Regions from separate parts of the Homo sapiens genome. Here all the other regions are linked to region 2. Evidence: promoter capture Hi-C in human tissues and cell types (Jung and others, 2019). All regions are on one chromosome and are shown on one strand. The core of a region is centred on a gene start or on the middle of the fragment in contact, and the rest is flanking DNA. Distances in the headings are between cores, read along the strand shown.

The links. The method cuts DNA at HindIII sites, captures the fragments that hold promoters and counts their contacts. A contact is called where the count stands out against the background at its distance.
Region 1: a contact is called between a fragment that was not itself captured here and the fragment with the promoter of MLXIP in region 2, in 2 of the 25 tissues and cell types used here (aorta and dorsolateral prefrontal cortex).
Region 3: a contact is called between a fragment that was not itself captured here and the fragment with the promoter of MLXIP in region 2, in 1 of the 25 tissues and cell types used here (dorsolateral prefrontal cortex).

What each region holds. Positions count from the first base shown.
Region 1 is chr12:121,474,597-121,478,421 of GRCh38, forward strand. The region is part of intron 12 of KDM2B (lysine demethylase 2B); the gene reads right to left. Among named protein-coding and RNA genes, the nearest start is that of MIR7107, 32 kb to the left of the region's middle. RefSeq lists an enhancer at 1,600-2,427. The HindIII fragment of the contact is 8,981 bases long and covers 1-3,825 here.
Region 2 is chr12:122,076,240-122,080,130 of GRCh38, forward strand. It overlaps MLXIP (MLX interacting protein), which reads left to right and starts at 2,517. Exons shown (of 17, transcript NM_014938.6): 1 at 2,517-3,027. The coding sequence starts at 2,615. RefSeq lists enhancers at 743-792, 2,860-3,099 and silencers at 2,060-2,339, 2,350-2,799. The HindIII fragment of the contact is 9,979 bases long and covers 1-3,891 here.
Region 3 is chr12:121,523,360-121,527,357 of GRCh38, forward strand. All of the region lies in intron 8 of KDM2B (lysine demethylase 2B), which reads right to left. Among named protein-coding and RNA genes, the nearest start is that of KDM2B-DT, 55 kb to the right of the region's middle. RefSeq lists an enhancer at 1-42. The HindIII fragment of the contact is 6,227 bases long and covers 1-3,998 here.

The DNA.
Region 1 (3,825 bases), core at 778-3,277, 600 kb before region 2:
GTCAATGATTGTGGTCCCACAAGAATATAATACCATATTTTTACTGTACCTTTTCTATGCTTAGATACAAAAATAGCTGGGCATGGTGGCTCACGCCTGTAATGCCAGCACTTTGGAAGGCTGAGGTGGGCGAATTCCTTGAACACAGGAGTTGGAGACCAACCTGGCAACACGGCAAAACCCTATCTCTACAAAAAATACAAACATTAGCTGGGCGTGGTGGTGCACATCTGCAGTCCCAGCACCTGGGGAGGCCGAGGAAGGAGGATCTCTTGAGCCTGGGAGTTTGAGGCTGCATTGAGCCATGATCATGCCACTCACTGCTCTCCAGCCTGGGAGACAGAGCGAGACTCTGTCTCAAACAAACAGAAAACCAAAAATACCTACCATAGTGTTACAGTTGCCTACAGTATTCATACAGTAGCATGCTGTACAAGTTTGCAGCCCAGGAGCAACAGGCTTTACCATACAGCCCAGGTGTGTAGAGGGCTATATCATCTAGGTTTGTATAAGGACATTCTATGACGAAATTGCCTAATGATGCATTCTTCAGAATGTATCCCTGTCATTAAACTACACATGACTCTGTGTGTGTGTGTGTGTGTGTGTGTGTGTGTGTGTGTGTGTGTGTATTTCATCAGACATGTCTTCCCTAGGTTAGCTAATCTGGTCAAAAATGGACACACAAAAAAACTATACCAAAACTTGGAGGCCAGGTGTGGAAGCTCATACCCGTAATGCCAACACTTTGGGAGGCTGAAGCAGGAGGATCACTTGAGCCCAGAGAGCTTGAGACCAGCCTGGGCAACACACTGAGACCCTGTCTTTACAAAAAATAGAAGAAAATTTAGCCAGGCAAGGTGGCATGCACTTTTAAGTCCCAGCTACTCAAGAGGCTGAGGTGTGAGGATCATTTGAGCCCAACAGGTTGCGGCTGCAGTGAGCCAAGATTGTGACTGCACTCAGTCACCCTGGGTGACAGACAGGGACTCTGTCTCAAAAAACAAAACAAAAAAAACAGGCACAGTGGCTCATGACTGTAATCCTAGGACTTTGAGAGGCTAAGGCAGGAGGATTGCTTGAGCCCAAGAGTTTGAGACCAGCCTGGGCAACATGGCAAGACCCCATCTATAAAAAAAAATTTTTTTTAGAAAGAAAATCTTGGAGATGAGGAGAAGACTAACCCCCCTGCCCCACAACCCCCACGTCTTTGAATAGATGTTATTTTCTCTCCAAGAGTTGGGGCATCTCCCTATGGCTCTATCATCACTCAAGAGAGATTTTAGGCCAGGGGCAGTGGCTCACACCTGTTATCCCAACACTTTGGGAGGGCAAGGTAGGAGGATTACTTGAGTCCAGGAGTTTGAGACCAGCCTGAGCAATAGAGTGAGACTCTGTGTCCAAAAAAAAAAAAAATGCCCGGCACGGTGGCTCACGCTTGTAATCCCAGCACTTTGGGAGGCCAAGGCGGGCAGATCACCTGAGGTCAGGAGTTCAAGACCAGCCTGGCCAACATGGTGAAACCCTGTCTCTACTAAAAATACAAAAATTAGCTGGGTATGGTGGCAGGCACCTGTAATCCCAGCTACTCGGGAGGCTGAGGCAGGAGAGTCACTCAAACCCGGGAGGCGGAGGTTGCAGTGAGCCAAGATTGTGCCATTACACTCCAGCCTGAAGGACGAGGGCGAGACTTCGCCTCAAAAAAAAAAAAATTAGCCGAGCATGGTAGTATGCCTGTAGTCCCAGCTATTTGGGAGGCTGAAGTGGGAGTACTGTTTGAGCTCAGGAGTCCCAGGCTGCAGTGAGCTATGATCACGCCACTGCACTCCACCCTGGGTGACCGAACAAGACAAGCGGCATCCAACAGGTAGTTTTTTGTTTTTTGTTTTTAAAAAAAAAAAACCCTGTCTCTTAAAAATAAAATTAAAAAGAGTGACTTTAGGTCCTATTCCTGAAAGGTAACACGGTTAGAAACTATAGGCCCTAAACCCCGGGATGTGTTAAAACTAACTGAAACAAAGAGATAGTTCAATCACCTCTTAAATGAGCTGCTAACAGTCACTGTGGGGGTCTGATGGGCTCCGATGACACTTTAATTCCAATACATATGGCTTTTCTCTCCCTCCTTCCTTCCCTCCCTCCTCCCTTTCCCTGGCTGCTGCCATGGGCCTCTCTCTTCAGTTACCATTCTTGTTCTTCATTTCATGGATTTTCATAGATCCATCAAGACACTCAAAATAGAAAAAGCCTGACAAAATCTATTGTCACCATTTGAAATAGCCATTAACCAACTCCTTACTTTGAAAATCAGCATTTAAAGGGCAAGAAGTGAAGCCCTCACACTGCTGGCTCAGGAGGAACTGTTTTTAGGGGTAGCCCCAGTTGACAAGGAAAAGCTCTGCCAAACATCGCCAGCTAATTCACACGGAATGACATTCTTCAAAGATCATTTTTCATCTCCTGATGAAACAATTTTTTTAATTTGAATCTTGTAGAGACGGAGTCTCACTCTGTCACCCAGGCTGGAGTGCAGTGGTGCCAATGATAGCTGACTGCAGATTCTAACTCCAGGCCTCAAGCAATCCCCCCATCTCATCCAACTAGCTGGGACTACAGGCACAAAGCCACCACACCAGGCTAATTTTTTTTATTTTTTGTGGAGGCATGGTCTCACCTTGGCTTCTAAAAATGGTACCTTCTAAAAAGGTATTGTAAAAATACCTTTCATTACAGGTATGAGCTACCATACCTGGCCTGGCCCCAGTTATTTTTATATATGTATGTATATATGTATTTATTTTTTTAAGAGACAAAGTCTACTCTGTCACCTACGCTGGAGTGCAGTGGCACAATCACAGCCCACTACACCCTCCAACTCCTGAGCTCAAGGGATCCTCCCTCCTTAGCCTCCTGAGGAGCTAGGACTACAGGTGCATGCCACCATGCCCAGCTAATTTTTTTCTTCTTTTCTTTTTGTCTTTCCTTTTTTTTTTTTTTGGAGATGGAGTTTTGCTCTTGTCACTCAGGCTGGAGTGCGATAGCATGATCTCGGTTCACTGCAACTTCTGCCTCCCGGGTTCAAGCGATTCTTGTGCCTCAGCCTCCAGAGTAGCTGGGATTATAGGTGTCTGCCACCACACCCAGCTAATTTTTATATTGTTAGTAGAGACAAAGTTTCACCATGTTGGCCAGGCTGGTCTCAAACTCTTGACCTCGGGTGATCCACCTGCCTTGGCCTCCCAAAGTGCTAGGATTACAGGTGTGAGCCATCGTGCCCAGGCTTTTTTCTTATTTTAAAACTTTTTTTTATCATTAAAAAAATTTTTATGGAGACGGGGATCTCATTATGTTGCCCAGGCTGGTCTTGAACTCCTGAGCTCAAGGGATCCTCCCGTCTCAGCCTCCCAAAGTGTTGGGATTACAGGCGTGAGCCACCTCAACTGGCCTTAAATCTTTTTAAAAGTTCTGTAGAAACAGGTTCTCTCCATGTTGCCCAGGATGGTCAACAAATAACCCTCCCGCCTTGGCCTCCCCTCCCAAAGTGCTGGGATTACAGGAATGAGCCACTGCGTCCAGCTTCCAATATTTTTTTTCTTTTTATGTTCAGCAGTACATGGGCGGGTTTGTTATATAGGTAAATGGTGTGTCGAAGGGGACTGGTGTACAGATCATTTCGCCACTCCGGTAGTAAGCACAACAATACCCAATAGGTAATGTTTTTTGATCCTCGCCCTCTCCTGCCTACCTCCACCCTCAAGTAGATCCTTTTTTTTTTTTTTTTAAGACGGAGTCGTGCTCTGTCGCCCAGGCTGAAGTGCAGTGGCG
Region 2 (3,891 bases), core at 1,267-3,766:
TGCCTGAGCCCAGGAGTTTGAGACCAGCCTGGGCAACATAGGGAAATTCCATCTCTACAAAAAAATTAAACATTAGCTGGGTGTGGTGGTGCCCACCTGTGGTCACAGCTACTCGGGAGACTGAGGTGGGAGGATAGCTTGGGCAGGGGAGGTTGAGGCTACAGTGAGCCACGATCACACCAATGTGACACAGTGAGACCCTGTCTCAAAAAAAAAAAAAAAGAAAGAAAATATAGGTAAACACAAAGACAAAAAAGCAGGGCATGGTGGCTCACACCTGTAATTCTAGCACCTTGGGAGGCTGAGGCAGGAGGATCACTTGAGGTCAGGAACTCGAGACGAGACCAGGCTGGGCAGCATGGCGAGACCCCATCTCTATAAAAAGTACAAAAATTAGCAGGGCACGGTGGTGTGCACCTGTGGTCCTGCTACTTGGGAAGTTGAGGTGGGAGGATCACCTGAGCCCTGGAGGTTGAGGGTGCTGTGAGCCATGATGGCACCACTCCACTCCAGTCCAGGTGAAAGAGCCAGATCCTGTCTCAAAAAAAAAAAAAAAAAAAAGTGGCTGGGCATGTAAACTTACCAAGGACCAAGGAGACAAGTCTTGAGAGAAAGGAAGGCAACTCAAAGGATGGACTTTTAAACACTTGTAACCAGCATTGGGAACAGTAGTAGGTTGAAGAGGGAAATCTAGAACTCATGCCTGAAAACTGCCAGTCATCCAGCCCATTTTTCCATACAGACATTTGGAAATAAGTTAATGGAGCCATTTTGGTGAGAGCCCTCTGTTCCCTTCAGGAGGCCTTTGTCAGGAAGAGGGTGGGGCAGGGGACTCACCCCCCACTCAAATCTGGAACTGAAACCAGCTTCAAAGCCGAGTGCAGAGCCAGCGCGGTGGCTCATGCCTGTCATCCCAGCACTTTGGGAGTCCAAGGCAGGCCTCACTTGAGGTCAGGAGTTCCAGACCGGCCTGGCCAACATGGTGATTGCACCACTGCGCTACAGCCTTGGGTGACAGAGCAAGACTCTGTCTCAAAAAACAAAACAACAATAAAACAAAGCAGAGTGCAGGAGTGGCTGTGGACTCTGGACGCCCTGCTAGGATTAGGATGGGTGTTCCTGGCTCATGGGCCTCACTGGCTCTTCTGATGCCCTGCCACCCCCACCCCAGACTGGCTTTGAGCCCCGGAAACCTTGACAGCTTTCTAGAGGTGTCTGTCAGTTAGGTTGTGCCACGCGAAGTTGCCGTTTCTGCAGGTCAAATAGTGGTGGACTATTGGCAATTTCTAGGCACCTCTGGTCTGGTTGATCCAAATCCTCCAACCTGTGGCACATTTATTTAGCGCTCATTTTGTGCCAGCCTGCCTGCTAAGCAACTTATAGCCATTTTTATTTGTATTTATTTTTCTTTTTGAGACAGGGCCTCGCTCTGTCGCCCAGGCTAGAGTGCAATGGCGCAATCTCGGCTCACTGCAACCTCCACCTCCCGGATTCAAGCGATTCTCCTGCCTCAGCCTCCCGAGTAGCTGGGATTACAGGGGTGCACCACTACGACCGGCTAATTTTTGTTATTTTTAGTAGAGACAGGGTTTCACCGTGTTGGCCTGGCTGGTCTTGAACTTCTGGCCTCAAGTGATCCACCCGCCTCGGCCTCCAAAAGTGCTAGGATTACAGGCATGAGCCACCGCGCCCCACTATAGCCATTTTTAAACTGTCCCAAGTTTCTGAGGAAACGGAATTGTTCACCATTTGACAGAGAAGAAAACTCTGGCTCAGATACTCCCCTTTTAGAATTGTTTCGGGGGCTGGCTCGTCCGTCAAACTTTAAAAAAATAACAACAGCATGCTGAGTTGAAGTTAAAAGAGCTGGGGTCTGGAGGTCGCTGGGCTCAGGGGCGCTGCCACTCAACAGCTGCGCCGAGCTGGGGACGCGCAGGGGAAGCAAGTTCCCAGCTCTGTGGACTCCAGGTCTGAGAAAAATCCTGTCGGTATTCAGCCACCCAGTGTTCCCATCAATACGATGAGAATAATGAGGACAATAGCCACCACGTCCGGCAAACTCAGGCGTGAGCTGCGAGGACTCGGTACCGCCCGGCAGGGAAAAAGCAGGGCCTGGAGGCCGAGGAGCCCCACCCGCACCCACCACGTGGAGCCGGCCGGGCCTGCGGCGAAGCCACAGGGCGACTCCCGGGGCGCGGAGCGGGGCGGGGGCGGGACTAGCACGGCCCCACTCTGCCGACGCCTCTCCCAGGTCGCGACACCGGCGAGCCGCTCCGCCCGGCCACCGTGTCCCTCAGCACCCACGGACGCCGGGAGAGGAGGAGGTGGCGAGGGGCACGGCCGGGAGGCGTGGCCTCCGCTTCCCCTTTTTTTTTTTTTTTGGTCCGCCTAGCTAAGGAAAGGTTCCCCTGCGCCTTTAAGAGGCCGACGCGGGCAGCCGATTGGCCCAGACGCCTCGGTGACGTCACGCCGGGGCCGGAGCCCTCCCCCTCCCGCCGCGCCGCGCGCTCGCGGACAGTCGGCGCGCGGGCCGGGCCGGGCCGGCGCCCCTCTGCCTCGCGCGCTTGTCGCGTTGCCCCGGGCTCCGGGGGATGCCCCCGGCCGAGCCCTTCTCATGGCCGCCGACGTCTTCATGTGCTCCCCGCGCCGGCCTCGCAGCCGGGGCCGCCAGGTGCTGCTCAAGCCCCAGGTGTCCGAGGACGACGACGACTCGGACACGGATGAGCCGTCCCCGCCGCCCGCCTCCGGCGCGGCCACCCCGGCCCGGGCCCACGCGAGCGCCGCGCCACCGCCGCCTCGGGCCGGGCCGGGCCGCGAGGAACCTCCGCGCCGCCAGCAGATCATCCACAGCGGCCACTTCATGGTGTCGTCGCCGCACCGAGAGCACCCGCCCAAGAAGGGCTACGATTTCGACACGGTCAACAAACAGACGTGCCAGACCTACAGCTTCGGCAAGACTAGCTCCTGCCACCTGTCCATCGACGCCTCGCTCACCAAGCTCTTCGAGTGCATGACTTTGGCCTACAGGTAGGGACCCCCGCGACCCCCTGAGGCCCCGGCCGGAGGCCCTTGTTTGACAAAACAAGCGTGGAGGGAAGGGCCGCCTGGCAACCCCGTGGCTTCATGCATTCCCTTTGGGTCTTCCTCCTTCGGGAGGGTTTATGGATCTGGGGTTCCCCGCGTTGCCAGAGGAGCCGGGGTCCTGGCCTCTTCCCCTGCCAGCAGTGCCGGGGTCCTTTCGGGTTCACGTTCCCCATCCAGGCCCTCCCCTCCAGTGTCCTGGGACCACCGATGTTGGACGAGGAAGAGGTATAAACACTGGCTGCATCTTGTGTTACCCGACTCTATCGACTCCTTCCTCCAAACGCTTTGTGTGTTTCCCCCATATCCAGCAGCGGTCAGGACCACCTGTTCGGGGTGACTGGAGGCTGGCTCTGCTGTTTAATGGTTGTGTAACACCTCGGAGCCTGTTTCCTCCTTTATAAAAGGGGAATGACTGTAGTGTCTGCCTCCAAGGGGCTGTTGTGGGGATGGAGTGAGATAGGTAAATTGCTTATTCCAGTGCTTGGCCAGAGTTAGGTGTCCCTGCACCTGGAGGCTGGCCCCCTTACAACCTCATCGGGAGGCCCGCCCCCATCTCGGGAGGGCTTTGGGTGCCTCCTAAGAAGACTTTTGGTGCCACAGCTGTTGGAGGTGCAGTCTGTCCTTCTGGCAAGTTGGAGGGTTTTCTGGCCGGTCCTGAAACATTATATGAGGGAGATGTCATTGTTGAGGGCAGACATCCCAGACACCGTTCTGACATGTGGATTCGGCTCTGGGCAGAGATTCCTCTTTTCCAAGTCACAGAAAATGCCTGGCCCTCAAAGATTAAAGCGCTTTTTCACTCTCTCT
Region 3 (3,998 bases), core at 220-2,719, 550 kb before region 2:
GGGGAATGGTGCAGCAGAGGGAAGGGTGGCGGTGCCCCAAGACCCTGCACCTTGAAGGGCCTGGCCCTGGAGGCCGCTGTCCCCTCCTCTCCCAGCCATGCACTTTATTCTTTTGCTCTGAGGAAAATTACAGCGACTGCCTCTGCCCCCCAAGCCCGAGCGGTTCCAGTCTGTCCCCCAATGAAACACGCCAGCCCTGAGTCATGGGTGGTCACCACTGCTGGGAGCAACGCTCCTGCCTGGAAGACAGCACAGACTGCGGGGCCACTGCTGGCATCCGCAGTGGACACTCAGCCGCTGTCCCTTCCCACCAGGGCAACGCATGGAACAGAGCTGGCCATCCTCAGGGGAGAGCAAGGGAAAGCTCATCACCAGAAGCCCAGTGCTGCCGGGTACAGGCACGAGGGCTTTGCTTTAGGCAACCTCGTTCTGTGCCTGGCTCCCCGGGTCTCTGGCGTGAGCCATGAAAGACAGCTGCTCTGTGCGGTTGCAAGCGGCCGTCGAGCTCCCCAGCTTCCCATCCCACGACCTTCACCCTCCTCTGCACAGAAGCATGGCTGCCGCCCTGAAAGAGCCTCTGTCTCCACATCCGCTTCAGTCTCCTGCCTCTGCTGCCTGCAGGCTGACCTCAACATTTCCATGTTTCCACCAAGTGGAACCATGCTATTGAATGCTGTTATTGTCGCCATCCCCGTTATCCTAGCAACATTTCCTAAGATTGGGACCCGGGACCACCGGGTCATGTGATGCACAGGCAGGTGCATCTTATATGGCCCCACAAGCCTACCTCCCTCCCTGCAGAAAGCCCAAGTCCAGGGGCTAGGGTTCCATCCTGTCCCCTCCACTCCCCTCCCTTCTGGGGAACTTGGTGAGCAAGTCCTGAATCCATATAAGCAATTGGCATTGGTATCTGTGGTTGTCTCTGTCGATCACAAGGGCTCTGGTAGAGGATGGTGCCCACATGCATCCATCTTTCCCAGCCCTGGACTCTCCCTGTTCTCCTGGCAGGTGCAGAGGCCAACGCACCTGACTTACATCTGTTGCCCTGACACGTGAGGAAAGAGGAACACAGAGGAGAGCTGCTGCTGCGAGGAGGGGGCAGGGGATCTGCACGCCCAGACACTCGAGGGATTCTAGAAGCTTTTACCCACTCCCCTTCGCAGCCAGGGCCTCAAGGGTGGGTCAGGCAGCCACCCCTGGATTAGCCGCCACTGCGTCCCTCCCCCAGCTCTGCTCACATCTGCTTCATTACCCACATGCCTCCCTCAGTAAGAAGGAGGTGTGGAAATAACAGCGTTTGTGGGCCCCATCCATACCCCTCCTCCGATGGCCTCTCGACAGCCCAGGAAGCATGAGAGCCGGTGCTCCCAGGCTGCTGCCTGGGCTGGGAACGCTGGCATCTGCCTCCTGCTTCCAGCCAGAGTCATCGACAATATGAAGGCAATAAACAGAGGCTATTCAGGCCAAGCGACCAGGGACAGATGCAGTCATAGATGGGAAGCCAGTGATACACAAAGCAGCACATTCTCTGGGACCTCAGGGGGCCCAAGAAGGGCAGCAGGGGCAGGTGGGGCTCACCCACAACCTGAGCGTCTGCTCAGGACTCGGAATCCAAAGGCCCCACCCACATCTGCCTCCACCTCTGTGGCTTTAGCAGGAATAAACCTAGAGGTCTCAGAACTGGGCAAGGGACACCTCACAGACGCCCACAACCCAACCGGACCCTGGCTTCTTTCACCGACATCAGTGAACTCCCTGCGCCGGGCCAGGATCAGGAACGAACCTGTGGCTGCTGACATGAAGTAAGGATACTCTCCCTTCAAGGACCTCATAGTTGGGACCAGGGGCCAATTACTTCACGCCACCCCATGTTTAAAAATGGGGATATTTCTTTTGTTGTTGTTTTGTTGGGTTTTTGTTTTTTTGAGACAGAGCCTTACTGTGTCACCCAGGCTGGAGTGCAGTGGTGCCATCTCGGCTCACTGCAACCTCCACCTCCCAGGTTCAAGCCATTCTCCTGCCTCAGCCTCCTGAGTAGCTGGAATCACAGGCACACAAATTTTTACTAGAGATGAGGTTTTACCATGTTGGCCAAGCCGGTCTCTAACTCCCAGCCTCAGGTGATCCGCCCACCTCAGCCTCCCAAAGTGCTAAGTGCTGGGATTACAGGCGTGAGCCACCGTGCCACGCCAGTACATTCCATGTGACAATCTGAAATGCTGCCTTCCACCTAGAAAAATAGGAAGGTCTGGATTCCCACCTGGCCCTAGCTGGACTGGCTGAGCAGGTACTGCCCAGTTTCCCACGGCCCCAACCCATCCAGTCCCCTTCCCTGCTTTAGACCCATTTGATAGATGGATCGTCTGAGGCCCAACCACGTGACACCATTAAGGAATTTCTTCTCAGACTTGCTGGAGTGTAAGAAATACCTGGGGCTACCATGATATTTGGGTCTTCAGTGGTTCTTTCTAGAATGCAAGGATGGGAAATAACTTTAGGCCAGCCCAAGTCACAGATCCCTGGGTCTTCCCCAGGCACTGCCATCCCCACTTATATGACAAATAAGGTCCCCATACTGGCCTCTGCCACCCTGGATGCCACCTGGCTGGATAAGCTGCTCTCAGGAGGGAGGGGATCTGTCTTATGTCCCCTCCAAGGCCCCCCACATCATCTGGCACCAAGTGGGCCCTTAAGAAAGTTTGTTAAATGAAGCCGAGACTGGTAGCTCACACCTGTAATCCCAGCACTTTGGGAGGCCAAGGCAGGCGGATCACTTGAAGTCAGGAGTTTGAAACCAGCCTGGCCAACATGATGAAACCCCGTCTCTACTAAAAATAGAAAAAATTAGCTGGGTGTGGTGGCACACGCCTGTAATCCCAGCTACTCAGGAGGCTGAGGCAGGAGAATCACTTGAACCCAGGAGGTAAAAGTTGCAGTGAGCCAATATTGTGCCATTGCCCTCCAGCCTGGGTGACAGAGCAAGACTCTGCCTCAGGGGAAAAAAAAAAGAAAGTTTGTTAAATGAGCAAATAGTTCTCACATAGTCAAGAGTCAAGAAGGAGGACCAGATCCCAAGTCTCCTGACTCCCAAGCTACTGGAGTTCAAAGTAGGTATATTTAGGAATATGTGTTTTCAAAGTAGGCACACCTGGGTTCTTGCTCTGACCTGGTCACTGTGAGATCTTGGGCCTTAGGTATTTTCTTTATTTGTTTAAAAAAAAATGGTGTCACATGCCTGTAGTCCCAGCTACCCTAGAGGCTGTGATAGGACGATTGTTTAAGCCCAGGAGGTCAAGGCAACACTGCAATGAGCTGTGATCACAACATTGCACTCCAGTCTGGGCACAAGAGCAAGACCATGTCTCTAAAACAAAATTTAAAAATTTTTTTAGCCGGGCACAGTGGCTCACACCTGTAATCCCAGCACTTGGGGAGGCCGAGGCGGGCCGATCACCTGAGGTCAGGAGTTCAAGACCAGCCTGGGCAACATGGTAAAACCACGTCTCTACTAAAACTACAAAAATTAGCTGGGCGTGGTGGTGCACACTTGTAATCCCAGCTACTCAGGAGGCTGAGGCAGGAGAATCACTTGAACCCAGGAGGCGGAGGTTGCAGTGAGCCGAGATCATGCCATTGCACTCCAGCCTTGGCAACAAGAGCAACGCTCTGTCTGAAAAATTAAATAAATTTCTTTTTTATATTTTTTGAGACGGAGTCTCGCTCTGTCGCCCAGGCTGGAGTGCAGTGACGTGATCTCTGCTCACTGCAAGCTCTGCCTCCCGGGTTCACACCATTCTCTGGCCTCAGCCTCCCGAGCAGCTGGTACTACATAGGCACCCGCCGCCACGCCCAGATAATTTTTTTTTTTTTGTATTTTTAGTAGAGACGGGGTTTCACCGTGTTAGCCAGGATGGTCTCAATCTCCTGATCTGCCCGCCTTGGCCTCCCAAAGTGCTGGGATTACAGGCGTGAGCCACTGTGCCCAGCCTAAAAAAAAA